Regions from separate parts of the Homo sapiens genome. Here all the other regions are linked to region 1. Evidence: promoter capture Hi-C in 16 types of primary human blood cells and fetal thymus (Javierre and others, 2016). All regions are on one chromosome and are shown on one strand. Each heading gives the region's core, a stretch centred on a gene start or on the middle of the fragment in contact. The rest is flanking DNA. Distances are from core to core; before and after follow the strand shown. Region 1 holds the start of ZBTB44 (zinc finger and BTB domain containing 44). Region 2 holds the start of ETS1 (ETS proto-oncogene 1, transcription factor). Region 3 holds the start of FLI1 (Fli-1 proto-oncogene, ETS transcription factor). Region 4 holds the start of ETS1-AS1 (ETS1 antisense RNA 1).

Region 1 (7,210 bases), core at 293-2,792:
CTGCTCTGTGGCCGCCAGTCCTCTCCCAGGTAAGCATTCCGCCTTCTTTCCCTTCCCCTCTTCAAAACTTAGTGCAAAAGTTTCTGGGCCTAGTTCGCATCTTTCTGATTTTTCTCATCTCTGAAATGGGAATAATAAGAATGATAGTGGGAATAATAATAGAAACCTGTGATAAAACCTGTGAATTACAGTTGCCGTAAGGATTAGATAACATTATACATGCTTGAAAACTTGTTGGAAACTGCGAAGGACTATAAAAACAGAAGTTGTTTTTATTGCCTTTATTCCTAAAGAAGATTGCAAGTGTCAGGGTGTTCAGGTGCTTGGCTGCTTGTCTCTCAGAGTGAATTAATGTGAGATGTTGCCAAGTGTTTCAAAAGGAAAATCCACTCTACTTCAGCGGGACGTCCACCCACCTTGCACAAAACCCTCTGGAAAGAAGTCTTTCGGTTTGCAAACTGGAGGCGTGGGAAAACAGAAAGCGCCCAAGGAGCACCTGCCCGCACCCCGCCCGCCCCCAGGCACCTGGGGCGCTGCCGCCTGCAGTCCCGGGAACCCCTATGACCTCCGGGGGCGGTGTGGAGAGCGCTCGCCCGCCTGGCCAGGGGAAGCCAAGACTTAGGGCCCTAGGAGTTAACTAGGTTGATTGATTTTGCAGTTGACCAAGAACTTCAAAACCCCCCGGGCGGTACCGGTTACTTCGGGGAGGCCCGCACACTTCCTCCGGGAAGGCCAGGAAGTAAGTGATGGTGCAGTAAAAATGACAGATTCACGGTTGTGGAAGAAGTAGGGTATATTTTTGGAGCAGCTCTAGCTGTCCCTGTGTTGGAAGAACGAGAGGGACCTGGGAGTCCGTTTCTCCACTCATCTCAAGAACCGCACGTCCTGCCAGGTCACCGAGGCAAGTGCTAGAACGGAAGAGAGCAAGCACTGCGAGGAGGCCCGAGGAGCCACGCAATCCAGACACCCGCCGCATGTCGCAGTCCGCCCAGGACGGGGGCGCGGGCTCACCTGTCTGCGGGGCGGCCCTTGGCAGGCCTGTTTCCATGGGTGAACAATGGGCACCTTACCAACTAACCTCCCTCGCCGAAGAGGGGCTGAAGTGTTTCTATTTCGACCTCCCTACAAAAACTACCCGAGAAAATAGGAGTTATGTTTTTAGTTCGAAGAAAAAAATAATGCTATAAATGTGACTCCTGCGGAGAAATGCTTCTCAGGTGTGAGAGGGGAACTGGGTAAGAGGACGGCTTAGAGGAAGGACAAATGGGACAGGGCTTATGGGGCATGTGAATGTAAATCGGCACATGTGCGCACATATGCAAAAATACAGTGTCAAGACTCACGGCCTTTCTGGGTCACGCAGGCTCCACCGTCTAAGGAGACGGAGTCACCAACAGTACAAGTCCCGACGGCCAAGAGGGCCCATTTTCTGCGCTTGCGCAATCATCACGTTTCCTTCCCCGCCCCGAGCCCCGCCCCCGAGCGCGCTCCGCCCCGCCCCCTTCTCCTCCCCTTCCCCAGCCAGGCCGCCGGCGCAGAGCATTGTGGGACACAAACAAAGTGCCCCCAAACAGGCTGGAGTGAGCGGAGCGGCAACGGCGGCGGCGCCGGCCGCACGCGCGCGGCGGCGGCTCCCTCCCAACCTCCCCCTCCCCTCCCCTCAGTCCCCTTCCCCTTCCCCACCCCGCCCCGCTGGGAACACGCGAGCCGTCGCCGCGCTCCCCAAACAACCGCCTGCCCTCGGCCAACCGTCCCCAACGGTCGCCAGCGCGCGGCTCCCGGGCCCCCTCGCTCCTCCCCTCTGGCCCCTCCGAGCGCTGGGGGTGCTTCCCTCCCCGCCTCCTCGCACTCCCACTCGCGGGCACGCCGGTGGCTGTGCCGCCATGCCCCACCACAGGCTGCTCACGGGCCTAGGCGCGGCGGCCCGAGATAGGGGCCCCTGAGCCTCCCGGGGGAGGAGAGAGGCAGCGAGCCGCGCTCCGCCCCCTCCCCCCGGGCCGCCGCCGCCGCCGCCTCGCCGCCCCAGCCTGGCGGGAGAAGGAGGAGGAGCAGCAGGCCTCCGGGCCCGGCGCCGCCGCCCGCAGGTAACGGGGAGGGGAGGGCGGGCTCCGGTCGCGCGGGGGACGGCCCCTGCACGCTGCCCGTGGCTGACACCGCGTGGCCCCCACCTGGCGCCGAAGGGAGCGGAGAGCCGGGTCTGTCAGCCTAGTCCGCGCCGGGAGACACCCCACGGGATCCCCTCGGTGGCATTTAATCCTTCTGGGAGGAGACCGGCCTTGGGCCCCGCGGTCCCGGAGCAGTTACCCCGACCTTCCAGGGAGCTGCCCGTCCTTTGCACGCCCATTTGCCCAACACCCTAACCCGGAGCGGCCGGAGTGTTGCCACCTCTCACCTGGTCGAACCCGGGAGGCTCAGACCTGTTTTTTTTCCTCCTTTCCCCTTCTGCTTTTTCTCTGGTACAGAAAGAAAAAGATGGCACTTCTTTAAAAAAATATATATATATATATATACACACACACAAACACACACACACATACACACACACACACACCTCTTTTCCTTTCCTTCCTGAGGATCACTCTGCATCTAGTCGTTTTATTGCTGGCCTAATCAGAAAAAGGGGTTACCTCGAGAAATGACAGGTACGTTAGAACTGATTAAAAGGAAATTGCGTCCATGTGAGTTCTATGAATCCAAGCAGAATTTACAATAAAACCCCGTAATTGTGTGCTTTTTTTTGGAACTTACAAAAATGAAGACAAAAACTTAATTTCTTTTTCAGCGTGTAAGTAGATAATCTCTTGAAGTCAGGAAGAAATTCTCCATAACTTCCACTTATTTTCTTAATGCTTTATTTGGAGATCGGCTGATACCGGAAGCAAGCTGCACGATTTTGATTTCCTTTTCTCTAGGTGTTCAGTTGGAATTCTTGGGTTTAAAAAATACTGTATAAATCTTCATTTCCCCCATTACTTCACTTGGACTGTCAGTGGATTAATAATAATTTTACCTAATGTAGTTTCCCCTTATCATAGAATGTGAATATAATGAACGTAGTCCTTTAGTTTTGTATTTTAGGATTATTAGTAATGTACTGATTAATTATGAAAACCAGATTATTCATTTTGTGCAGTACTGCTTGGCATTTTTGCATTTGTAATTATTTAATTCTCAGAACAACCTAATGATGCAGATATTATTACTTGAATTTTATAGAAGTGACAAACTTAGTGATACGAAGAATTACAACTTGCCTTAGGGCACACAACTAGTAAGATAGTTTAGATTTCAACCCAAATATAATTCCAGTATAGATGTACTTTCGTGTACTTTCTACCGTACTTCTCAATAGAAGTACAATTTTATTAACTTTGTTATGAAAAATTTTAGTCGTATAGAGGTTCGTTCTATACAATTGTGATCGGTTATTCATGCAATGAATAAAAATGCTAATCAATGCAATGAATAACCAACTCAGTGATTAGCATTTTTGCCATATTGTTTCCTGTCTTTCTCTGTATGTGTGTAATTATTTGAAAGTAAGCTGCAAACACTGTAATCCTCAAATATTTCGGCATGTGTTTCCTAAAAATAGGGACATTCTCCTACTAACCCCAGTATCATTATTAATGCCTATCAAAATTAACAACTCCATCTTCAAAATTCCTCAGTTGTTCCAAAGTGTCTTTGAGGGTTCTGCCCCCAGTTGTAGTCAGTCAAGATTCATGCATTGATTGCATTTGGTGATTAAGTCTTTAGTCATTTTGTAAAATGAAGAGTATCCATCCCCTCTTCTTTTTGCAGGGGAAATTAAATAGGATGAATATTCCCTCCCTTCTTTTTTTCTGACACGTAATTGACCAAACCAGTTGTCTTGTAAAATATACCCACATTCTGGATTTGTGCCCTCCTAATGTCATTTCGTTTATTCCTCTTTCTCCCTGAATTTCCTATTAACTGGAAGTTAGGTGTAAAGGAAGGCTTAATTAGCTTAAAGTAAAACTTCCTTTGGCAAGAATATTTAATAGGTGATGCTGTGTACCTCCTGTTGCATAATATAGGAGGCACACAATGTCAGATTCCCACACTATTAATGATGCTAAATGTAACCATTTGATTAAAGTGCTGACTACTGATCTGTTGTAAAGGTGTGGTTTGCCAGTTTGTGATTAATATGTAATCTTGGGGTAAAACTTGGACACTAAGCAAATACCCAGTTTCTGACAATCTTTTGCTTAGTGGTTTTTAGCACCCATGATGACTTTTGCTTAAATCAGTTATTGGAGGTTCTCTGTAAGGAAGAGATTTCCTTCATTAAGTGCAGGTAAACTATTGTTCTTCCCCAAAATGCAAATTAAATGTTAAATTTAATCTCTTTACTTTTCAATATTCATAGTAAAGAGCTGGAGAAATAGCCACCCCCAATGATGTTTTTTGGGGCAGGGGTGAATGATACCACTTCAGACTCTCATGGGTTTTAATTTATTCCTTGTTTTATAACCAGTTACAGTCGTCTTTCTTTTTAATGACCAAATTGTCCCAGATTTGGTCAGTAGGAACCATTTCAAGCTGACTATTGTGTGTCTTGACACCCCTGCTCCCCATTAATCTTGGAGTGCTTTCTGACACGAGTTACTCCAGGGTTTATCTTATACTTTCTTTGCTCACCTCTGGAAAGAGCTGTTTATCCAGGGAGTCTTGGTTCTTTTTAATGAGAAATCGTATATAGAAACCAAGTTCTGGATGTTTGGCATATTCGTTGCTGCTGCAGTATCATTGCTTCTAGGTGCTTTGAGAGGAGAGAACTAAGAAAAAGGTTTTTGCTTGTTTAATCATGAGTTCAGAGTGATATTCCAATTCCTATTTAACAAGCAGACTTTTTCTTCCTTGACTCTATATTTGTCTCTTGTCTTAAATGAAAATCTTGGTTTTTAATACAGTTAATAAACTGGCCAAGCACAGTGGCTCATGCCTGTAATCCCAGGACGTTGAAAGGCCGAGGTGGAAGGATTGCTTGAGCCCAGGAGTTCAAGGCCAGCCTGGGCAACATGATGAGACCCCATCTCTATAAAAAATAAAAAAATTAGCCAGGCGTGGTGGTGTGTGCCTGTGTTCCCAGCTGCTCAGGAGGCTGAAGCAGGTGGATCACTTGAGCCCAGGAGGTTGAGGCTGCAGTGAGCCATGTTCATACCCCACTGCACTTCAGCCTGGATGACAGAGTGAGACCCTGTCTCCAAAAAAAATAATAAACTTATTTGCTTTCTCCCACTGTATACATAAAATCATTTTAAAATTATAGTGCTGGTATTGCTAATACCAATAAGCTTCATGTAGTTTAAGATTTCTTTGCATTTATTTTCGTATTTAGACTATATTGCATGAAGAATGTATAATGAGTACTGTGTTCAAAAGTCACTTGAAATACTTTTCTCTGGTTATGCTACCAATTTGATATGGTTCATAGGTTTCAGTTTTTACTTAGGATTTTATTTTTGAATATGTAAAGTATGTACATAGTGTAGAAGTCAAAATAATGTTTTAAAACTATACTTGGATTAGCCGGGCATGGTGGCACATGCCTGTAGTCTCAGCTACTTGGGAAGCTGAGGCAGGAGAATTGCTTGAACCGGGGAGGTTGCAGTGAGCCAAGATTGCGCCATTGCACTGCAGCCTGGGTGACAAAGCGGGACTCCATCTCAAAAGCAAAACAAAACAAAAAAAAACTATATTTGGATAAACCTCATTAAAATTAGTTTTTAAAGATGAAGTATTGTTTACCTTTACCATACTCCTTTTAGTATCTACTACATTCTCACATCAAGCTCAGAAGAATTAGCAATAGACAAATTATGTTATGTGAAGCCACATAGAAGTACTTTTAAATTTTAAAATTAGATTCTGCTTCCTCTGGCAAAGAGAACTAAGACTAGTTTTTAGAAGTTAGCAGAGAAGTGGATTCCATGCTTACTTTTTTTTTTTTTTAAAGACGGGGGATTTACTGTGTTGCTCAGGCTGGAGTGCAGTGGCTATTCACAGATGTGATCCTACTACTGATAAGCACGGGAGTTTTGACCTGCTCTGTTTCTGACCTGGGCCACTTCTCTCATTAGGCAACCTGGTGGTCCCTCACTCCCTGGAGGTCACCATGTTGATGCCTAATTTAGTGCAGACACCCAATCGGCATAGGATACTACAGTCCAGAACTTCTGGGCTCAAGGGATCTTCCTGCCTCAGCCTCTTGAGTAGCTGGGACTACAGGCACACACCACTGCGCCCAGCTCTTTTTCTTAAATAGTGATTTAAAATAGTGATAGATTCTCATTATGTTGTCCAGGCTGATCTCTCAAACTCCTGAGCTCAAGTGATCCTGCTGCCTTGGCCTCCCAAAGTGCTAAGATTACACATGTAAGCCTGTAGCCGTAGGCCTAGATACCATATTTTTAAATAAAAATTCCATAAAAATAGAACTGTAGCTTTTACTTAAATCATGTCTTTAAAGAGGCAGGTAGTTGGTAGAGGTTTTATGACTCCATCTACTTTTTTAACTTTTTTTTTTTTTTTTTGAGATGCAGTCGCCCTCTGTTGCCCAGGCTGGAATGCAGTGGCTCGATCTCAGCTCACTGCAATCCACCTCTGCCCCCTGGGTTCAAGCGATTCTCCTGCCTCAGCCTCCCTAGTAGCTGGGATTACAGGCATGTACCACCACGCCCAGCTAATTTTTGTATTAGTAGAGATGGGGTTTCACCATGTTGTCCAGGCTGGTCTCGAGCTCCTGACCTCAAGTGATTCACCTGCCTCGGCCTCCTGAAGTGTAATCCTGGCCTCCTAAAGTGCTGGAATTACAGACGTGAGCCACTGCGCCCAGGTGACTCCATCTACAACAAAACTGGCATAAATATGCTATGTACAGATAAAAAGGCATTTGGATATGTGATCAGTGGAGATAACACATTTTGTTTGGGTTGGACCAAATTTGATATAAATTCATAATTATGTGATCTCAAATGAAGTTTTAAGAGGGAGCAGTGTTCATCTAAAGTAAGCAGAGCACAATTAGGCAGTTTATCAGCCTCCTGTCAACCAAGTGCTGAAAAGCAAAACTGTGCCTGTAGTGTGTTTTCCTGTGTTCATCCTCACTGTCATAGGTCACACTAGCTGAGGCTGGCGTTGCAGGTGGTAAAGGAATTACCAAGGCAATTGTAGGTAAAGA
Region 2 (7,454 bases), core at 2,133-4,632, 1.7 Mb after region 1:
TCCTTGAGAATCATAATGGTCATATTGCCCTATCAATTGAGGTCTTTCCTCATAGAGCTATCTATGGACATGGGAAAGAAAAGCATTGCTTCTACTGTTTACACAGTCATCTAATCGCATGGTGATTTCAGCAACCCTGTGAAGTTGGGCTGGTATTACTACACCCTCTTCAAGAGCCGGCATAAGGGAGGGGCTGGGGAGCCACCACCGTGCAGTGGAGGGATCCTCCAGGGATTTCATACCTTCTTCTTCTAGAGCATCATTTTCTTTTGTCCTATATTATCCATGTGGATCAGAAAGCATTCCTTCTGCGGAAGCCTACTGACTTCTAATGCTATATATATATTTTTTTTTTCCCTCGGGACAACATATTCTTTTATTGTGGTAGAATACATGTAACGTAAAATTTACCATCTGAACAATTTTTAAGTGTACAATTCAGGGGCATTAAGTACAGTCACATGTTGTGCAACCATCACCCACATCCATCTCCATTCCTTTTTTATCATCCCCAACCGAAGCTCTGTCCCCATTAAACACGAATTCCCCATTCTCCTTTCTCCAACCTGTGTTAACTTCTATCCCTTTTTCTGTCTCTATAAATTTTACTATTCTAGGTACTTCATACAGGTAGAATTACACAATATTTGTCTTTTCTGTATTTGGTTTATTTCATTTAGCATAATGTCCTCAAGGTTCATCATACTGTAGCATGTATTGGAATTTCATTCTTTTTCAAGGCTGAATAATGTTCCATTTTCTGTACATACCACATTTTGCTTATCCATTTATCTGTGGATAAATAGTTGGGGTGTTTCTACCTTTTGGCTATTGTGAATAACGCTGTTATGAACAATATTGTGCAGACATCTTTTTGAGTTCTTCTTTCAATGCTTGTGGCTATATATGTAGAGGTTGAATTGCTAGATCAAATGGTAATTTTATATTTAATTGTTTTGAGGAACTACCACACTGTTTTCTACAGTGGCTGCACCATTTGACATTCTCAGCAGCAACACACCCTTATTCCTATTTCTCCTTATTCTTGCCATTATTTTCTGTTTCTTTGATAATAGGAACCCCAATAGATGTGAAGAGGTACCTCACTGTGGTTCGAATGTGCATTTCTCTGATGATTAATGATGTTGCCCTTCTTTTCGTGTGTTTATTGGCCATTTCTGCATCTTTGGAGAAATGTCTACTCATGTCTTTTGTCCACTTTTAGATCAGGTTATTTGTTGTTGTTGCTGTTGAGTTGTAGGAGTTCTTTATATATTTTGAGTATTAAGTCCTTATTAGATATGTGATTTGCAATTTTTTTTCTCATTCTGTGGACTTCCCTTTCACTGTCTTAATAGTGCCCCTTGATGTACAACATTTTAAAACTTTGATAAAGTCCAACTTATCTATTTTTTCTTTTGTTGCCCAAGTTTTTTTTCCTGGGATAAGCTGTCATATCCCAGGAAATCATTGCTAAATCCAATGTCATGAAGTTTTCTTCTTTGATTTTTTCTAAGAATTTTATAATTTTCATTCTTATGTTCAGATCTTTGATAGATTTTTGTTAATTTTTGAGTATGGTGTAAGGTAGGAGTCCAATGTCATGCTCTTATATGTGGATACCCATCTAATGTTATATTTTTGAAAATACTGTTTAAAACAAAACTTACTGTTTTCCTGGGCATTCTCTAGGCAATTTATGACAGTGGTGGCTTATTTTGCACTATTAAGATTTCTAGTTTATGTTCTTCCACACCGTAAAAGGCCGTGTCAGAGGAGGGAGCTAAGGTCCTGAAGAGTTGCTTTCTATATAAACTCAGCATAGACAACTCCAGACTTCAGAACCCCTTGACAGCCACACTGTACACCCTTATAGAGCAAGAATCCAAGTCTTCTCAACTTTGTTTTTTTCAATTATCCTGCAAACATAGTGAATACAGTTGTAATTAGTTATGATTGGTATAATTGACCGTGGGCTCTTTAAATGGGGCAGTGTGCTGAAATTGACTGGGTTACAGGGGCAGGCTGAAGCTTCCCTAGCTCTCTTCATAGACTTCTTTTGTAGCATGTATTACATTTTTGGGGGGAGATCGTTGATTTATGTGTCTGTCTCCTCACTACAATGCAAACTTGCTATCTTTCTAGTGCCTAGAACAGTGCCTGGCACAGGCAATTTATTAAACTAAAGTGAACCAATAGCATTACCTCTTCCTTACTTCCAAGTTAATGTGCAAAGGCAGAAGATGAGCAGTAAAATCTTGCTTTACTTACAATGTCATCTTAACTGCATTGCCAGCTTTATACAATGAAGGCTGATGATGATATGGCTCCAAATGACAGTTATTAGATTTTCAAGGATTTTCTAAGTTTGTATCTTTATTAAAAAGAGAAAGAAGCCAACTATGACAAATCTTAACTCCCACCTCCTACTCAAAGAAGATGGAATCTTTTAGGATAAAAGTCTTAGATTAAGCAGCCAAATACTGACTTCTCAAAAAAAATTGTAATAACTCCATTCATAGAAATGAGATTATGCTGTAACATTCTTACCATAGTCCTGAATATGTGAATAAAAGATGCTGTGTATTTTCACTTAGGACAGATGTAAGATTTTCATATTGTTTACATTTTCCCTAAATGAGAAATGTATGAACACTTCTGCCCTTTTATTCCTGCACCACGGACCATGAGTCAGGGCTGCTAAAAGTATCCTTATTTTAGAGATTGCCTAAAACCAGACTTATATGAAAAGGGGATTTTTAGCTTTACTTTTCAGAAATCCCAAGTCCATATCCAGTCAGCTCTCTTCCACAAAATTATTTTCTTTTCTTTAGAAAATATCACATTTCATATCAAGTTATTAGAGAGAAACGGGAAGCCTGAGCAGGTGACTGGGTGGTGGACGTCCTGTGTTTCTAAAGCAATCCCTTTCCCTCACCTGAGACCTTGCCTAGGTTAATGGGGGCTCCATTGAGAAAGTCAAGGAACATGAAGCATGAATATTTACATATTCAGCAGAGAGTAAATGCATCAGCAAATGATGAGGTGAGATACAGTGTTATCCCACTGAACTAGTTCCCTTTTGCTCATCTCCCTCCCTGTTACTCTCCAAGGCTGAGTTATATTCAGCTGAAGCACAATTTGAAGAATACGAAATAATGTGTGATTTGGTGCCACCACTGTCAATCAACAGTGCTTTCCACCTAGACTGCTGTGCCTGTGCCAGTGGCTGCTGTCCTGGTGCCAGGGGCAAGAGGAAGACTGCCTTTTTTCCAGCTTTCCCTGGCTTGACCACACCCCCCAATTTAAGGAGGCAGCTCTATTAGAAACATTATGGTCTTTGCATCCTCTTAAGCTACGGAGCAGAGGATTCCCGCAGGTAGTTGGAAAGAGACCACAGACTTTGAGGGAAGCTCACTCAGGATCTGCTCTCCGGCAAAGTAGTAAGTGAGGTGTGTGTCAGTTTCTGCCTAAAACTTTTCAGTCCATTTTCCTTTTCCTGCTTTAAAAAAATTTCTGTGGAATTAAAGAGTAAGTCGGTAGGGAGATTCAGGATACAAGTGAGTTTTCTCTTTCTCTTTTCACGTCTTTCTATATTCCCATTTAATTGTTTAACAATTTTCAAAAATACTTCCTAACCTCGTCAGAATAGTCTGAAAGCAAGACTATGTTTTTAAAAATGTTCCCTGCTTCACAAAAGTAAAACCATGCACGTTTTAGATACCCGTAGATTACTTGTCAGAAACCCTGATTTTTTTTTTTTTTTTTTGCAAATTGGAGCACTTCCAAAGAAATAAAGCTGTAGTTAAATATATAAATTTCTTTTTATTCTCTTTCACTCCTAGTAAATCTATTGTTTTACTTTTTTCTCCTGCTAGTAGTTTAATGAATTGCTTTTAATAGAGAGGAAATTGCTACAGGTTTGAATCTTGCTAGCCAAACTAGCCTGTTTGGTGTTTTTCTCTGTCTTGGGACTGACCTGCAGTTGTCCAAAGATCTACAAGTTCCTAAGTCTGTTGTTGAGACATGGTGTGGGTGTGGGCCGCGGTTGTCTCAGAGTTAGGGAGGTATTTCTTGTCCCCACGGTAGAGCTGGACTCAGTGGCAGGAGATGTCGATGGCAATTCCTCTGCATCCGGTGATTTTATCTGGCCGTGACACTTTGTATGTGACTCCTCACCCACCGTTAAAGGTCTCTGTTACCAACTTTTAAAGTAGTATTTTCTTCAGGCAAACTTAAAAGGGTGCTGGGTCACTGAAATCAATGCATTCTATTGCAGGATTTCTTTATCACCTTTTGGGTAAGTTTTTGTTTTTAATCTCAAGTCCATTTTCCTTCTTACTTTAGACCACTGCCATGCAACTGAGAAAAAAGTATTTGTTAAACAGCAGGAAATACCAATTCTAAAATGATAACTCCATCAGCTCCATTTGATTTGTAAAATTACTGATACTATAACTCTTTCATCAGTTGTGGTTTTGGGTTTGGTGGCCTATTTTTATCCAAAGAGAAAACGCTTTTTCTTCAGGGGCCGTGGGCTGTGCACAAGGGCTGCAGGGTGGCCACTGCTGCTGTTGAGAGTCTTGCTCACCTGTTGTTCCTGAATGGAGGGAAGGGAGAGCTAATGGGTTAATGTCTGCAAAGTGCTTTGAAGATGAAAAGGTCTTTTCATGTGTTCAGTAGTGCAGTTATTAATATTAATATTTGAAGAAGCATGCTGCTTCTAATTGTAAATCAACTACTTCCATCCTTGCCAACTCAATAGTGAAATAACAAACAGTTCAGGCATCCATGCAGCCTCTTCCGTCCTGGTTCCGCTGCTGAGGATGTGGGAAGCCAAGCCGAGAGCCTAATTATGGAGGGGGCATCTTTGCCCGGCAGGCTCCTTACACGGAGGTGCTAGTTGCTGGCTGTGAAAGGATGTCCTGAGGCAGAGCCTGGGGGAAGCTGGTAGAGGGGTGGGATCCTTTGGCATCTGGCAGTCTGTGGCCAGAGCACCGACTTGGGCCAGTGGCCGGTCCCGGACGATAATGGAGTTCAAAGGCAAGTGGGGTCAGAACTTGAACCAGCGCTGGGTCGGAGAAGGGAAAGTGGCTGTGCACTTGGATTATGTCAGTGATTAGCTTTGTAACAGAGAACAGGGATTGAACGTGTCTGTGCCTTCTTCCCTTCATCTCTAAAAGGTGAGCAATCATTTGCGCCCCGCCTGGTTTACAAATATGAGAGAATAGAAGTAAACAGCATAGGGCTATGAAAAATCAGAGTGCCAGTGAGGTCAAGGACTGTCTGAAGTAATACTTCAACAAACTGGGTGTGTGGGTGCAGGTCCTCTCACCTAGGGGAGGGTGAGGCAGAAGGCAAAACACTGCAAACAAATAATCAACAGATTTCTCTCTTTGATTGCACTGGTGAATTTCTTACTGATAACTGAGGTTCTGATGTACCTTGTGATTTTAATTATTGGTGAATAGATCTGTTTTCCATAGTGACTATCATTTTCTAATTACCAGTTCAAAATTCCCAACTGTTCACATCAAACAGCAGAAGGGAATGATTACGTCCCACGAGCTGGGACCCTTCCTTCCTTCCTTGCTTCCTTCCTTCCTTGCTTCCTTCCTTCCTTCTTCCCTCCCTTCCCTCCCTTTCTATCTTTCTTTTCTTTTCCTTCTTTCTTTCCTCCCTCCCTCCTTTCTTTTTCTTTCTTTCTTTCTTTCTTTCTTTCTTTCTTTCTTTCTTTCTTTCTTTCCTTCCTTCTTTCTTTCTTTCTTTCTCTTTCTTTCTTTCTTTCTTTCTTTCTTTCTTTTCTTTCTTTCTTCTTTCTTTCCTTCCTTCCTTCCTTTCTTTCTTTCCTTTCTTTCTTTCTCTTTCTTTCTTTCTTTCTTTCTTTCTTTCTTTCTTTCTTTCTTTTCTTTCTTTCTTCTTTCTTTCCTTTCTTTCCTTCCTTCCTTCCTTTCTTTCTTTCTTTCTTTCTTTCTTTCTTTCTTTCTTTCTTTCTTTCTTTTCTCTTTTTTCTTCCTCTTTCTTTCTTTTCTCTCCCCTCCTTTCTTCTTCTTCTCTCTCTCCCTCTTCCCTCCTCCTTCCCTTTCCTCCCTTTCTTTCTTCATTATGGAAATGATAAAGTATTTAGCATTTGAGCAAAATTAATGTGGTATGCAGCAATTTAGTGGCATTTCAGGCAAATCTTTTAAGTTTCTTCAATCCTGGGAAAAATTAGATGTGAAGACATAACTTACTTTTTGCTTCCTCATCTCCTTTATCCCTGCTGTACTGAAAGTATAGCTTATTGAACTCCACCTTTTAATGTAGATGATTTTCTAGTTATCATATCCATTCTTCTTCATTTCACCTAAGGAGGAATACTCAGCCCTAACGTTTACTGAGCACTTGGTATGTTCCAACATCCTTGCTAGGTGCTTTGCAGGGACTGCTTCATTTAATCTACAATGAAGTTTTGAGGTGGGCACTCCACTCTCGTCATCCCCATTTACCAGGTGGGGACTCTGAGGCTCAGTCATATGACCGTGTTAACTCATGGTGGACCCTGATTAGAGCCAATGGAATGTGAACCCAGAGCTTGTGATTGGAACTGCATGTCATAGGAATCTAAGTAACTCTAAGACATTTACACAAATTTAGGATAGATTTTTCTGCTTAGACTGATTTGCTTATCTAGGAGAACACTGGATTAAGCCTGTTTTCTGAAGTGGTATCTGTGGATTACTTATTCATTGTTATGAAGATACTGACTTTGAAGAAAGACTACCCAGGCCTAGTTTCCTGGGTAAGTAAGTCAGTCCCTTCCCTGACAAATATCAGTTTTATTTCTACTCCATGCCCAGCCTTGTGCTGGAGACCATACCAAACACAGAAGAAACAATATGTAAACTCCATTTTTAAAATTAACACAATAATCTTTACTAGAAAAGAGGATAAAAATGAAAGACAATATAATTATTAAGTAGTGTAGTATAACCTATACATGCTTTGGGAGTTCAGGTAGAAAAAAATGGTATCTAGAGCAGTGAGGGAAGGATGTTTCTGATCTGCCTTTTTTTCAAAAGAGGATAGATTTCATATTCCAGTAATCAAGTGTTGGAGCTGCCTTCAGAACTTAGAGGGAACAGGCTGGGTAGTACTTACTAGCATGAGAGTAAGCAACAAACATTTAGTGCAAATGTCAGGAAAATATTCTCAATGGGGAGGAAAAAATATATAAATTTTCAAGAGATGTGGAAAGGTAGAAAACTCCAGAATTTTGGTCTTTTTAGAGATTTAAAAGAGATTTAGTCTTTTTAGAGACTTAAAAAAAACTTTTCACTTTGAAATAATTCCAGATGCATAAAAGTTTGCAAAACAATGTACAAAAAGTTTCCAAAACATGTGAGTCTTTTACAATTGTAAAAAAAAACATATAATGCAAATAACTCTTTTAAATTATCTCTTGGCACCTCTTG
Region 3 (7,248 bases), core at 1,328-3,827, 1.6 Mb after region 1:
GGCTGGATTTAGTGCACATACAGGCAAGTGTTCTTGTAAACACATATGAGCACATTTTAGGCACTGAGAAGATTGGTTAGATACTACTGTAGAGGTAACCTAGTTCCACTGTTTCATTTTTGTGATGACTATGAATCTCAAACAGGCTTAATGGACGGTTCATTCTCACCAAGAGAGCAGAAGAATGCTGGCCTCTCTCCTGGTCCACTGTCCTCTCCAAGCACAGTATTTGAACTATTGTGGGAACAGGATCTGGAAACCCCAAGATCCAGAGGTCACATGCGAACAGAAAACTGTGGCTTTCACACAACTTAAACACCAACACACACACTAAAGGCTCAATCTTGCAGAATGCTTGGAGACTGAAGGTAGCTCTGTGGGGACTCAGCCTAGCCAGGTAACTTAGGTGAATGACAGGTTGCTCACAGGGAGGGTTTGGAGGAGCTCATGGCTCCTACCACCCACAAAAAAAGGAAGGACTTTCACTCCCATCCTTGGCCTGAAGTGTCAGGTTCCTGCTCTAAGCCTGTTCTCGAGGCCTGCCATGCCAATCCCTGTGTGTATCTAAAGAGGTTAGCACATCCTGGGTACACAGACCACAGCTTCCTCCTTTTGCTCAGGGCCTGTGCGTAGAGTTTAAGCAGTGTGGAGATATTTCTTCACTTTTCCTTAGGGTGTCCACATCAAGACCCTGAGGCCATCTTACCACCCTTCTGGATCAGAAGAGGCCTTCAGAGTAAGTGGTAACTGTCCTGATTGGGGCGAGGGAGTTTTCTAGAGGGGAGCATCTCATTACTAAACCCAGAAATACAGAGACACTTGCATGAACACATCAACAGGAAGCAGAGAAACAGGCATAAAATGGCCCAATGACCCCCACTCTCGGGTCTTTGCAGGAATCCCCTCTCACCTACTTCTCACCTACTCACTTTGGGTTTGAGGAACCCAGGCTCTTATAGGCTCTTATAGCTCCCTTTAACCCATCACAGTCAGTTATCTCATCTCCAGATTTGCAAGTTCCTTCGGTTGGTGTCTTTTACCTAAGTCAGCATATTTCAAACTTTCATAAAAAAAACTTAGAAAATAAAAACCACGACCCCACCCAGAAGATAAAAATCTCTTGAATTCTCTGAGCCCAACATCTTAGCCTTCTCTTGCTGAGCCCTGAGCAGGGAGTCGATTCTTTCGGGTTCTGGGGAATGGCGGGCTCTGCCAGTCCCCACCTCGCCAGCCTAATAGTTTTTCCAGACAGACTCCCGCTTGGTGTTGCGCGGCAGCCTCGAAGCTAACCCCTGGTCCCATTCATTCCCCTAGGTCCTCTAAGGCCCGTCACGTTAGGGGGTGTCCCTCCTCTCTGCTCCTGGCCCTACTTGGCGAACCCTTTCAGAGACAGCAGTCAACTTTTCTGAAGTGAGACGCGAACCCAAACCCTCACCTTTCCGCCTGGGTTGCACTTTGCAACCTAGACCCAGGCTTGGCGGCGGCGGCTGGGGTGGGAATGGCCGGGCGGGCGCGGGGCGCGGGCTCACAGCCGGCCCCTGCAACGGAGGCGGCTCCGAAGGACGCAGGACCCTTTCGGAGGCGACAGCTCCAGGAGCCCTGGTCCTGGAGCCGGCGCACGCCTAGGCGCGAAGGGCGGGGGCTCGGGGCGCTAGGGATCTGTGCGGACGGGGGCTGGGGAAGGTTCCCCGCCGGAGAGGCGGCGAGGCCGGCCCAGGAGTCCCGCGGAGCCGGCGGCTCTCCAGCGCCTAGAGCCGGGCGACTGAGTGCCGAGAGGAAGGGAAAGCGCTGACATGTAAACAGGGGCTTCCATCTGGAGGAGCCCGCTCAGATAGATCCCCCGACACACTCACTTGCACCCCTACCCTCGTGCAACGAGGCCACTTACCCACCCCAGGGCCCACCAGGCAGGGACCCGAGCCCGGGCGACTGCAGCCCCCGCCCCCGCCGTGTTCCGCCTCTGCGGAGAGGAAGCCCAGTGCCTAGCGCTGGGGCCACGGGAGCCCCGGGTGTCGGTGGGAGTGGTGGACCCCGAGGTCTCTCGCCCTTGACTCCGTTCCGTACCCTGGGGTCCCCCGGTTTCCCGCCGTCCCCTCCTGCAGCCCCGGCGGGCAGCGAGGTGGGAGGGGGGCCGGGGCTCCACTTTGGGGGCTGGGATTTCGGGGGAGGGTCGCCCTCAATGCGGGCGCCTGGCCGGCTGGCCCGCGAGTAGGACTCGCCACCCGAGCGCCGGAGGAGCCGGCGCGAAGCCGGGGCGCGGAGGGAAGGGAGAGAGGCCACGTCTTCCGGGACGCGGGCCCCGCACCTACCCGCCCGCCGCTTCGCCTCCCCGGCCGGTCCCCGCCGCCCGCGTCCGTTGCCCCGCCGCTTACCTTAATAGTCCCGTCCATTTGGCCAAGTCTGCAGCCGAGCCCCCCAATATTCCACACATTGACCCGGTTACAGCCTGACCTCGCAGCCCCTTCGGATTAGCCCGGCGCGGCCTCCCTGGCGCCCTGGGCCCTCCCTGCGTGCCCCCTGCGAGCGCCCTGCCCTCACTCCCCTGTGCACGTTTGTTGTTGTAGCGGAGCGAAAGAGACAGTTAACCGGATGAAACTTTTTTTTCAGCTAATTTTGGGAAGTGACTTCACTTTGCGAATCGGGGAGGAAGTCCTATCTCTCTCTCTCTCTCTCTCTCTCTCTCTCTCTCTCTCTCTCTCTCTCTCTCGCCTCGAGCTCTCCTCTCTCTTCTCTCCCCTCTGCTCTCCCTCGTCTTCCCTCCCCCCCCACACCCCCTCTTCCTCCCCTGCTGGTCCTGCTTTTCGCATCACACACTATATAAATATACGCGGAGATGCCCAGACACATTCATGCGCTGCGCACACAGGATACTTGCTCCTGGGAGATAAGAGCTAGCCGGGAACAATGACGGGGTCCACGCCCAGCGTCCGCGCCCTGATTCCCGAAGTCTGAACCTCCCCCCATCACCTTCCCCCAAAATCCAAAGCCAAAGACCTTTGGCTTCTTTGCTTTTCCTGAGGCGGTTGGCCGAAGGTGGCCCTCCTGACTCATTCACTTTCCGTTTCTTCCCACAGATACGTTCATTAATGCTTTTTCCAGCCGGAGACAAACTTTTTGGGGGTGGGGTAGGGGGGGTATGGAGGGAGAGTTGGCTAGGGCTGCGGGTAACCCAGCGCCTACTGCCGGGGAAGACTCGGACGAAAACCGAGGCAAACCAACCATTAAAAAGTGCATCCAATAAGAATTTTTCCACTCAGGCCCTCCGCTGCCGAGACGCGGCAGACTCCCAGAGCGGCTCACCCACTCATCGAAGCGGATTCTGGGCGGTTTCGGGCTGACCCGCGCTGTCAGGGCGCGGACTCCATTCCGGGCGCATTGTTAGGAGAAGGGGCCCCTCGGGGCGGCGCGCCTCGACCCTGGGCTCCCGGTGCCCGCAGAGGGCGGAGATCCGCGGCGCCCTAGGCCACCTATCCGCATCTTCTCGAGCCAAACCCCCAGCGCTTACCCGGACCCGACGGCCCAAGCACTGACTCCCAGGCAAGAGTCGCCCTTCCTGGTCCCCAGGGAACTGACACTACCGCGGGACGTTCCCTCTAGGACAGTCAGCAGGTCCCAGGAGCGCAGCACGCAACAGCGCAGAGCAGACCCAGACTTTTCCCGGGGTGAGACCCGGAGGCCCGCGCTCTGGACCGTCCTCCCTACCCAGCCTGGAGGCCGGCGTTCCCCGGCCCAACCCGGAGACCTCCCCGCCTCCCTCCTGGGCCGCCGCGCGCCCCAGTTGGAGCAGCCTCGAGGGGCTGGGCCCTTTCGGCCGGACTCCCTTCTCCCGGACATCCAAAACAGGTTACCTTGTCCACGCTCTCCGGACCACGCTTTGGACTTGCTCACTTTTATTTAAGAGTCCGACGGGGGAAAGAGGGAAAAAAAATCCAGAGGAGATCCAAGTCAATTGGAAGAAAAAATTTCAAAAGGGTGTCCACAGAGGCGAAAAAAGGTGACTTATTAATTCTTTATTTCTTCAGGAGCAATTGAGCCCGAGAGCTCACTCGTCTCCCTCCCTCCCCCTCCCTCTCTAGAAATTAGTCTCATCAATTCGGCTCCAATTTTGGGTTCGAATACAGACACGGGTCTGAACGTGACCAGACCTGGAGTGGCGGGTGCAGCCTGCCAGCAATTGAGACTTGGTGTGCGTGTTGGGGGTGGGGGTGGGGTGGATGGTGGGATGGGGGCCGGGCTGACTCCCCCCGCTCCTGTCTGCTTCTCAATCCAGGGGTCTGCTCCGGGGCTCCCCTGGGACCGCCACATCTGGTTACCGCTAGCGGGGTCAGTCCCCCCCTTTGCCTGGGGCCACCAGTTCTGGAGTTCAATTAAAAGAAATCAGGCTTAACCCTTTCCTCCCCGCGGCAGGCTGCCTGCCCTCTCACTCCTCCCTTCAGCGTTTCCACGTGCTTTCCAGAGAGGAAAGAGGTTAACGGGAAAGGAAGAATGAATTACATCCTTTCAAACCCCAAATTGTTTCCTTTTCAGCCCAGGCTCTACCGACCTTCAAACTACAACAGAGCTTTCAGGAGAATGCGGAGAGACGGCTTCCCACCCGGACCTCACCAGAAACCCGCACACCCCAGCCACATTGCTCCTCATTCAGCCAGAAAGGACTCCAACTCCACCACCAGGAGGCCCCCCTTCCTGGTGCTGGCCAGTTGCAGAGGCTGTTCATGGCATCCCACAGGTGGCGACTGCCCCCCACCCTCCTCCTAGCACTTTAGAGGGTCCCTCTGTGGCAGACACCATGGCTAGGTTTCTCTTTCCAACTCCTGTTGGTCTGGCAAGTGACAGATCATCTTCACTACATTAATCAGTAGTCACCCGAACATTCCTATACTGTCCCCCAATTCCTTTCAGCACCAGCTGCCTCCCCCACTGGAATTATTCAATATGGAACTAGATTAAATTGAAGACTTGCCCTTTAGTTTTTAACTGTGGAACTCCATCGCACTTTCTGTTTCTCCAAAGCTACGGCAATTTCATGGTTTTGGAGATGGGCGGGGGGTAGTGGAGAGCCTGGCACAGGCACCACTAGATGCATAGACACAGGCACCCCGGCCCTTTGGGACTCACAGACTGGCACTGGTGCCACTGTTGTTGGCGATTTTCAGCCCCCTGGGAGAAGCTCCTGTCCATTCACAGAGGTCTCCACCCAGAAAGAAGACCCCACCTAACTCTGACTAGATGCCTGCGGGAATCTCGGATTTCCTCCATCCAGTGTTGGCATGCCCGTAGGTCAGTTTGCCCCACTTTTATGTAACTCAGGGTTTGATGGTCAACTCCACTGCTACTGCTGCTTTTTTAAATCCTGAAAGGGGATGGGGGAAGCGCCCTAACCAAGCACAATAGTAAACAAGTCTACCCTGTTTAATGTGGTTACCACCAGACATCTGGAAAGATGGTTTGATCCTGGCAGCTCACATTGTTTTCACGAGCAGCCAAAGGGGATATTTTGAATGTTTGCATTGAGACAAATTGATAGAGAGCCTGCGGTGAGGGCCTACAAATGAAAACTGTCTTGTGTTAGTGGGGCAGACCTCCCCTTCCCTCTCCTCTCCCTCCTCTCTTCTCTCCTTCCTCTTTCCTTAGTCTCTGGGCCCAGCTTGGGGAAGGCTGCCCCTGCCCACACACTTGTGCACACCCTCTTTCCTGGCTTACCATGGCTCCAATGGCCTCGCCCTTTCCCAGACTGGGCAGAGCTGCTGAACAGGAGCTGGTATGAGTGCCATCGGCGACAGCTCACTTTCCAGCAGCTCGGGGCTGGTTTTCAAGTCAGAGGCAGCTCACAGCCAAGGAAGCTCTTCCCAGTATTTAAAACAAAAGCTACCAACTGGAGAAAAAAATGTCCCAACAACAAAACAGCCCACCACATGTTTCCAAGTCTGGGGTCACTTACAGAAACCGTGCACATGGGCGTGAATACTCAGGAAATATTTGGATTTGGAGCATTTTCATTTGGAACGCTGGTGAGACGACTTGCCTCGCACCATTCGCACTTGACAGTATTTTCAAAGATGCGGAAGTCCTGCTTCCCCCGGGAGGGGAGCGGCGGGTCGAAACGTGTCTTGGCTCGCTCAATGTCAGCCCTTTTGACCCGGTCAAGACTTTCCAGACACGGGCTTCCCGGGCTTCTTCGGCCCCAGACTGGGTTTGGGGTGGGCGGACCTGACGATCTGAGCCTGGTCCCTGGGGTAACAGACCCAGGGGTGGCTCCGTCACTTGAAACTCCGCAGGATGCCAGGCCTGGCAGAATGTCTCGGGCCGCTCCTCTCCCTCCGTCCTTCGTCCTCCCCTCCCATGCCCCTCTGGTCCAGCGAGGCCGCAGCGGGTATCCGAGCTGGCAAAGGGGGAGGAGGAGAGGGCGGGAGAAAACCGGAGGGGTGGGCGGGCAAGCGCCAAAACTCCAGACTGCACAAATGCAGCTTCAAGTGTCTGGCCTCTCGCTCGAGGCCATAATTAATTTGAGATTTATTTTTATTGGAGAACTCGAGTCTCGTCTGACCTTAGCCAAACAAGGCAGCTCAAGCCGCCCCTGGATGCGCTTGAATGCCGGGGAATATTTCTGCAGGAAGGCTCTGCAGGCGCGCCTGCTTTGAATTTGTTTCTCAGACTTCATCTACTCACAGAGTGAAGGAAGATTTAGAGCCTCTGCTCGCCTGGCCCGCTCCCCACGCTGGTTCTTGCCTTAGCGCTGAGCGGGTTCAGAACGCTACGTGGGAGGCCGCGGCGGCGGGAGGGCCGGGGGCGGGCGGGTTGGGGAGGAGGAGGGTCTCCGAGCCCCCAGACCACGCGGCGTCGCTGAGGAAACCCCGAGGGAGTCCAATCCTGACCAGAGAGAGCAGGCTGACAAGAGGTGGAGACCAGCCAGGTGTCCAGACCCTCGCCCAGTGGCGGATCCAAGATGGGGCCGTTGGGATGGGGCCAAGGTGGGTTCAGCTTCTCCAATCTCCATCACACCCCCTCCTCCCAGCCGCCCCAAACAGCATTCATTCTAAGAACAGATCCGTGGTCTTGAAACTCAGCTTCGAGACCCGCCGGCAAGACCACCTTAGGGGTGGGTCACTGTGAACATTCTGGGGCTAGCAACCTCCTTTCGTCCGGGGGACAGGCGGAAGACGGCATCTCCCTCAGAATGCAGCCTGGGCCCAATCCTCAGGCTGATAAGTGAAGGAGTTAGAGCAAGGAACCTGGGGGGTACACAAG
Region 4 (6,890 bases), core at 2,938-5,437, 1.8 Mb after region 1:
TCCAGATAGATGAGATGTGAGCTGGGTCTGTTCCACCTCATGAGTCATGGGCAGGACCATCCACTACATTCTGACTCCTTCACAGGGCTGATGCAAGATGTGGAGTGAGCACAGCTGGCTGCTTGCAAATTAAAGAAGACTTCATTTCTTTTTGGTCCTTAAGAGCTGAGAATCAAATGTGAGCTGTAACGCTGGAGAAATTGACATGTCCCTTTTTGAGCTTCTTATTCAAATCTGTCAACTTTACATCATTGGCATGCTTGATGCTCAGTAAATTCTAAATATGAATAATTACACTGGACACCCTAAAGTTGTTTTAATGAATTTATGTTCCTGCATATTTATGAAACTCAGATTCTGTGCACCCTTTTCAGGAGAGTACATACCAGAAAAGAGGTTTAAAGCAGCATGGGAACTTAAAAAGTGCTATGCATTTTACTTCCTCTGTTGGTAGAGTTAGCATTGGTGAAGCTAGGATTCATATTAATTCATTATGACACTATAATGCTGCTCATTGAAGGATGCCTAAGGTAAGATAGGCATAGATTCTTGAGTAAAATGTTTGTGGATGACTGCAGTGACATACTCAAAGAATGTTATATTTACTGGCTAAGCAGGCTGTTCTTAGTGTGACACATCAATGTTTTCTTGGGGCTCTTATACGGAACTGGTTCTGGAAGAAGTGATGTAAAATAATGTGTGTTCATGATTCCCCCTCAGAACTCAGGAGAAATCATGAGCCCTCACCAAATCCAATATTTCCTTGGTTTTTAGGCTTTAAGATCAGCTGCCTTTTCTGTTCCAACATCTTGATTACCCATTAGTAGATACAAACAACAAAGTGCAGAGAGCAATACTCTACTTCGACAAAAGTGGTTAGGGCTGCTTTCTATATTTCTGTGCCACCTGCTAGATTGTAGCAGCTCCATTTGATCCTCCCTGTCCTTTTCATTCCCATCTTCACTCTCAGCCCATCCCCATGTCCCCCCATTTCTACTTCCAACCCATACCCTTCCTCAATATAGAATCACCTGTATAGCCAGAAGATATATTTCAAAATACAGTGCTTCTGGAGTCCTGACAGATTAAACTTGAGAAGGTGAAAGGGATTTGTAGTAAGCACCCTGGCTCACCATAAAGCATGTAACAGTCTATTCTTTCTCATAAAGATGGAGGAAATTGAGTTCATTTCATGTATTTCCCTTATCTTACAAATAATGTATATAGCAGTTGTACATCTTACCTTTGTGGAAGCCAGTGAAATAAAAGATTCAACTCGAAGTTCGGAAATTCCTGAAGACTGCTTCTGAGCAGCCATCTGAGAATATGAATAGCGTGATGTATAAAACGTCCAGGCTGACAATCAAACAACTGATTTACTTCGTGGTGAGCCAAATGTCATTTTTTACATGAAGTCTCAGAATAAAAAATTAGATAAAAAGTAAAATGAATATTGTGATCTTAGCAACATTCTCCTTTAAGGGGATGGGAGGAATGGGAGGAACAGAATAAAACTTTACGAAGACCTTTTTAGTTAGAAATGAGTCAGTTGGTTGGATCTTTAATCTTAAACTTTGGGCAAATTTGAGTCTCACTTCAGACCGAACTAGGCAAAACAAAACTGGTATCTGAGCTTCATTTTTCTGTAAAAATGTTACGGGGATGTTAGGAAGTTAACTGTTCATTAATTAAATAATGAACATAATTTATGGGGCTCTTACTACCTTGAGCTAAACACCATGGAGTGTAATAATGACTGAACCTCAGTTGCTGCCTTTAAAGAGTGTAGGAGACTGACACGCATATTCAAATATGTACTAGGAGTGTGCTCTTGAGCTGAGCAGAAAAGTGGCAACTTGCAGGGGTGGGGTGACAGCTTCTGTGAGGGAAATTCTTTGTGTACTGCAAATGTCCATGTGAGGAAAAGACTGAGAAACACACTCTATATTCTGCCTAGATTGTCAGCTTGACCTTCCCTTGTGTCTTCTGTGACCTCCTGAGATCCTTTCACCTCCATTCTATCCTGGATCCTTTGCATCTCTTCCAGCATGAGGACCTCCCATTGATCTGTTTTCTGTAGTTCCATGACTGTTGGCCATGCAAGACAATTAATTAAAGTATGGGATACTTTACTAGGTCTTAACTGCATTTTGAAATCTTGGGGACTGAAGTCCCAGAACGACAAGAACATAAAATCACTGTGACTCTACCTCCTCATCTCCTCCCCTTCTCTGTCCTCGACTTACACTTCCATTGTTCTCAGAGGACTTCCCTTCCACTACTTCCTCCTGTACCACCGTCCCTTTTCCTTTCAGGGCTATTTCTCCTTTTTGTGCTCCACTTATCTCTGCTTCTTGATCTCTGGGGTGGTAAATGTTAGTCTTTTGGGGCAATTGATTTGGCATTTTAAATGAAAGTAGTGGGGAGAGGGGAAAAGATTCCACAGTGAAATTGTCTTAATGTAAGATTCAAACCACAACTGCAGAGAACATCTGTTTTGAAGTTTGATGTTGTCTTTGTAACCCAAGAGAAAAGCAGAGTAAGATCAGAGGAAGGCCTTAGCCTTCCACCAGGATGAAACCACCTGCAGCCTTGGACAGTGGGTGAAATCCTGTAGCCCTGGGATGCAGAGCTTCTAGGAGACTGGCTGTCCTCTTCTCTCATATTATTAAAGGATGTTGGTTCTCTTGCCATCTGTGCTATTGCCATTATCCCTCTACCTCCTCAAGAGTCCAATTCAGGACAATTTAAATTGGAATCCCAATTACATGATCCCCAAAGGCTCACAGAGTAGCCTGCATTCTGCATTTGCAGCAATTCCAGGCAACATGCTCAGCCTGCTTCAGGGAAGCACACAACACTGAGTGTGGATGAGACCTCAGAACCCTCTAACCTTGGGCAGCTCCTTACCTCTTCCTGTCTGAGCCATGTTTGATTTGCTGCAAGAGGAATACGTGTCTAAACTGCTGGATTTTAAAATGTCGCTTGGTCTGTGGATTAGGCCAATCCACCCCACATTGTTGGGGCTGCAGATGCAGTTGAATGGTTCATAATTATAGTCTAAAGAAACTGCAGACAGCAATAGAGCCAACCCAGGCCCTTTCTCTCCTGACAGCCCATGCCAAGCTGTCTCCCACAGGGAACCATAGTGTGGTTATCCTGCAATGTATTTGCCCAAAGACAATACATCCAGTGTAGAGAAGTTGGATTTCTAGAAATTGAGTCTGCTCATCTATCTACTCCCATGTCCATTGTATCCTGTCTTGTGTCTCAAGGGTGTCTGGTACTTCTCCTGCCAAAGTGAAATGCAAAGTAAATGCAAGGAGATGCCAGGGAGAGAACTGCTATCAGGGCATCTGGTTCTAGTACTGACACTGACTTTTTTAGATTGTGTGGCCCTGGAAATAATAATTTCCTCACTCACACTCATTTTTCACCTCTGGTAAATAGGAGTGCTGGACTTGGAGAGCACTGATAAACTCCCATTGAGCTCTAACATGTGACAAATCCAAGACCTAAGGTTTTGTCTCCAAAGAGGCACTACAAATGTGATCTTCTTTCAGAATTTAAACTGTCACTTTTCTGTGACTCAAAACAAATATAAATCTAGTTCTCTTCTCCAATCAGGTAGTTCTCGAATTTCTCAAGTGAGGCTGATGCTGGGCAGGTTGCCAGTTTAAGAACTGAGGAAGGGTCTTGAAGAGATTTTTAAATGAAATGTGGTGATAGTTGTTCTATCTCTCGCTGGAGATCGTTCAGGAAAATTGAGCATCCAAGCTATTCTGCAAAGAGATGGCTGTAGACAGACATTTAATGTGATTTCCCACATATTCTACCGTATACTAGATCTTAATAACAATAATCAAATACTAATTCTCACCTAGACACTGTGCTAAATTCTTTGCATACATTATCTCATTTAATCATTCAAATAGCCTTAAAAGGTGTGTGCTGCTATTATCCCTAGTTGAAACATGGAGGAACTGAGGTTCGGGATTGTTTAAATGACTTACCTGTGGCAATTCAGCTGGCTAGTTGGTAGAGTAAGAATTTGAACCTGAGTCTTATTCCAAAGCCCACACTACTATCCTCTTTGTTTTCTTATATTGAGCTTTCCAGGGCAAACAGGCTCCCAAGTCCTCCCCTCTCCCCCAACCCCACCCCACCCTCCCTTCTTCCCTCCTGACTGCAGCTCCTCCTACCCTCATTGTTTATTGTGCCTTCTAAACAATAGCCAATGAGTCTGTGTTCCATTCTAGGGAGAGCTAGGGCTGATTTTATTCCCTGAAACAGAGATGAGGTTGTGACACAAAAAGGTTAAGTGGCTTTGGTGAGGTCACAGAGCCAGCCTGCAGTCAGCAACAGTACCATCTGAGTCCCCTGGCTTGGGTCCCTTAACTGACCCTAAGGCTTTTTGGCATCCAAGTTTAATTAAGAGAGTTATTTTAATTTTCCTTCCTATCTCTAATTTTCCATTTTATTGCTGCTTGATAATGTAGATATTGAAGTGCCAGGCATTTTTCTTCCCTAGTGTGACTTTTAATGACTAAACTTCTCACATAGAAACCACTTGCCTTAGAAGTAAGCTTTCAAAGCTTGTTTCTGTGTATGACAGAGACTGTTGCCTTTTCTCAGAGAAAAATGAGACCACAAATGCAGCTCAGACAGGTTGTTGTTAATTGAGGGCTTTTTTTTTTTTTTTTTTTTTTCTAAATCTTACATTTATACCAGTAAATCAACATCTGTGAGTCATAAACTGGTTCTGGATCAGCCGTTAGTGGTCTGAATGTTTTTGTACCTACCTTCAGTAAAGCATATTTTAGCTCAAAACTCAGAGATTCTTTGTTTTGTTGAAGTTCAAGACTCAGGAGTAGATAACATGCTAGGACACTTCTGGAGAGGGAAAGTCTGTCTTCCATGATTGTTCAACATTAAGTGTATATTTATATTTCTTTTTTATTGAAGTTGGGGTGGAGTTGAGGGAGGAGTATAAATAAAAAAGAAAGTATGCTTTTTACATACTCCATGTGCTTGAGGAATTCCTGTATGAAGGTGACTATTTTCTTAATATTATTGTCTAGCTCCACTCTTCTGTTCCCCAACTCCTGCGGACTTTTCTTGGCCCTTATTGACTTCACGTTCCTAGTGTAAGGCAATTCAGCACTTGGTAGGATATAATTAGCCGAAGTCTAAGGAATGCTTAAAAATACAATTCTGTTTTTTCCCAAATGCAGGAGGAACAGACTGCTGCAGTACAAGCACAAGCACAGAAGTATTTATTTGATTGATTTTTTTTTTTCCTGAGTGCCTTAAAAACCAGATATGGTATTGAAGTATCTTGCCCAAGTGGATGAAAGGCAACGCTTGGCTGCTGTTGTTTGGCTGGTGGGGACACTGAGGCATACATGTAACCGAGTGGACGTGAGTGCTGGGGATAGAGGTTCTGCTCTACTATGAAGGGAAAAGGGCACAGCCTCTGACACTTTTTAGTTCATCTTCACAAGCCAGAGCATATCAAACTCACTTAATCATTGAATTAGGAAGCCCATAGTGACCAAAAAGTTGATAGTTCATCATTCAACACATATTTATTGAGCTCTGTAATGTCTTAGGCACTAGGCTAGGCATCAATGTTTTAGCGTATGATAACATAGAAATATCATTTAAAGTCCATATGAACATTTAGAAAAATCTACTTGTGTCCTAAAGAGAATGAATAAAAATTTCATTTATCAACATTGATTAGATTAATGAAACATGACCCTGGCAGACCTGATCAGATTATTATATCTTAAATATGTAAAAAATATTTTAACATGACCTTATTAGTGCTCTTCATCCAAATCCAGGGTTCGATGCATAACTTCTGATGGCATAAATATTCATAATTAATATCATCTGGAGGTAACTTTCCTGGCAGCCTGTGGTGGCGCCTGGCTATCTCTCCAAACTGCTGCTTTACGCAACCCTATTCCTTGATTTGGACATTCACTCATTTTGTTTCTGTGCTTCAGGACTGGATTAGGAAACGGATGATTGACTATCTGAGTTGTCACTATGGAAGAATTAGAAAGAATAATTTTCCTCATTGCTAGAGTGGAAAGTGTTTACAGTTTAATCATGGTGGGCTTTTTTAGTATCTAATTTGGGTGGATGTTAGCAGCAGTGTTTAGGCTAGTCTGGGGAAGAAAGTTGAGGAGCAAACTGGGGAAGAGAGAAAGGAGTTGCTCTGAGGAATCTGCATTTGAAAATAGAGAAGTACTCACACTTGGATTAAAAAATGCCAACATTTTCTCAATACAACATCAACAAAACAAAATTCCCCAAAGCAACTCTAGATTTGTTCACTTCTTCTCCTGATGAATTCATAGTGAGTAAGGCAGAATTGATTCAAGAACCTTTTTTTTTTTGTGGTTCATTTGGACGTGTAAATGTACAATTCATTCATCAGCTGTTTCTCTAGGCTTTTCCCAGGACCAGAAGGGTCTGTTCTTGTCATCTGGAGGCCAGCATTGTTTTCTCATACCTTGTGGAAACACAGCTGGATTGCAACAGTCTTTGTTCTTTCAAAAATTAGGACTATCACATACAAATATTTTCCTCTGGTCACTAAGGAGGGATTTAATCTGGAGTTTAGACCAGGAGCCACAGATTTTTCTGTTCCTGGCTTCCTCCCCGATTTGCTGTGGGAAATCTGCAAATTACTAAGGCTTCAAGGGCACAAAACTGGGATTAGATGAAGGTAAGCCTGTGTGTCAAAACTTACCAGAGGCAGAGGTTACAGTTACAGTCAAATGCTGGGAGTTCAAATGTGCTTAGAAATCAGGAAACATTAAAAATAGCTTTCTCTGAGATTGCTCAGGAAGATTTATGTTTAATCTTTCTGTTAA

The links. Contacts are between HindIII fragments. The CHiCAGO score rates a contact against its expected background, and 5 or more counts as called.
Region 2: a contact is called between the fragment with the promoter of ETS1 here and the fragment with the promoter of ZBTB44 in region 1, in 3 of 17 cell types (neutrophils, M0 macrophages and monocytes). The highest score is 9.1, in neutrophils.
Region 3: the fragment with the promoter of FLI1 here is called in contact with the fragment with the promoter of ZBTB44 in region 1 in 1 of 17 cell types (neutrophils); the score reaches 6.1 in neutrophils.
Region 4: a contact is called between the fragment with the promoter of ETS1-AS1 here and the fragment with the promoter of ZBTB44 in region 1, in 2 of 17 cell types (monocytes and neutrophils). The highest score is 6.7, in monocytes.

Annotation. Positions count from the first base shown.
Region 1 is chr11:130,309,249-130,316,458 of GRCh38, reverse strand. ZBTB44 (zinc finger and BTB domain containing 44) reads left to right here and starts at 1,542. Exons shown (of 8, transcript NM_001301098.2): 1 at 1,542-2,084. ZBTB44-DT (ZBTB44 divergent transcript) reads right to left here and starts at 1,466. Exons shown (of 7, transcript NR_148980.1): 1 at 1,344-1,466. It also overlaps the pseudogene RN7SL778P. RefSeq lists silencers at 449-508, 1,419-2,248 and enhancers at 809-908, 1,079-1,178, 2,339-2,388. The HindIII fragment of the contact is 9,181 bases long and covers 1-5,326 here.
Region 2 is chr11:128,583,486-128,590,939 of GRCh38, reverse strand. It overlaps ETS1 (ETS proto-oncogene 1, transcription factor), which reads left to right and starts at 3,382. Exons shown (of 10, transcript NM_001143820.2): 1 at 3,382-3,452. It overlaps LOC105369565 (a long non-coding RNA gene), which reads right to left. Exons shown (of 5, transcript XR_948163.3): 4 at 3,980-4,600; 5 at 1,281-1,919. RefSeq lists a silencer at 3,223-3,429 and an enhancer at 7,108-7,454. The HindIII fragment of the contact is 9,036 bases long and covers 2,034-7,454 here.
Region 3 is chr11:128,689,401-128,696,648 of GRCh38, reverse strand. FLI1 (Fli-1 proto-oncogene, ETS transcription factor) reads right to left here and starts at 2,577. Exons shown (of 9, transcript NM_002017.5): 1 at 2,373-2,577. The coding sequence starts at 2,390. It overlaps SENCR (smooth muscle and endothelial cell enriched migration/differentiation-associated lncRNA), which reads left to right and starts at 626. Exons shown (of 3, transcript NR_038908.1): 1 at 626-736; 2 at 3,258-3,994; 3 at 4,528-4,977. RefSeq lists silencers at 1,546-1,675, 1,726-1,945, 1,986-2,035, 2,256-2,625, 3,309-3,448 and 1 more and a cis regulatory region at 2,357-3,089. The HindIII fragment of the contact is 9,137 bases long and covers 1-7,248 here.
Region 4 is chr11:128,523,439-128,530,328 of GRCh38, reverse strand. It overlaps ETS1-AS1 (ETS1 antisense RNA 1), which reads right to left and starts at 4,187. Exons shown (of 4, transcript NR_120581.1): 1 at 4,014-4,187; 2 at 2,911-3,796; 3 at 1,244-1,318; 4 at 1-191. The region is part of intron 3 of ETS1 (ETS proto-oncogene 1, transcription factor); the gene reads left to right. RefSeq lists a cis regulatory region at 6,861-6,890. The HindIII fragment of the contact is 5,425 bases long and covers 1-4,588 here.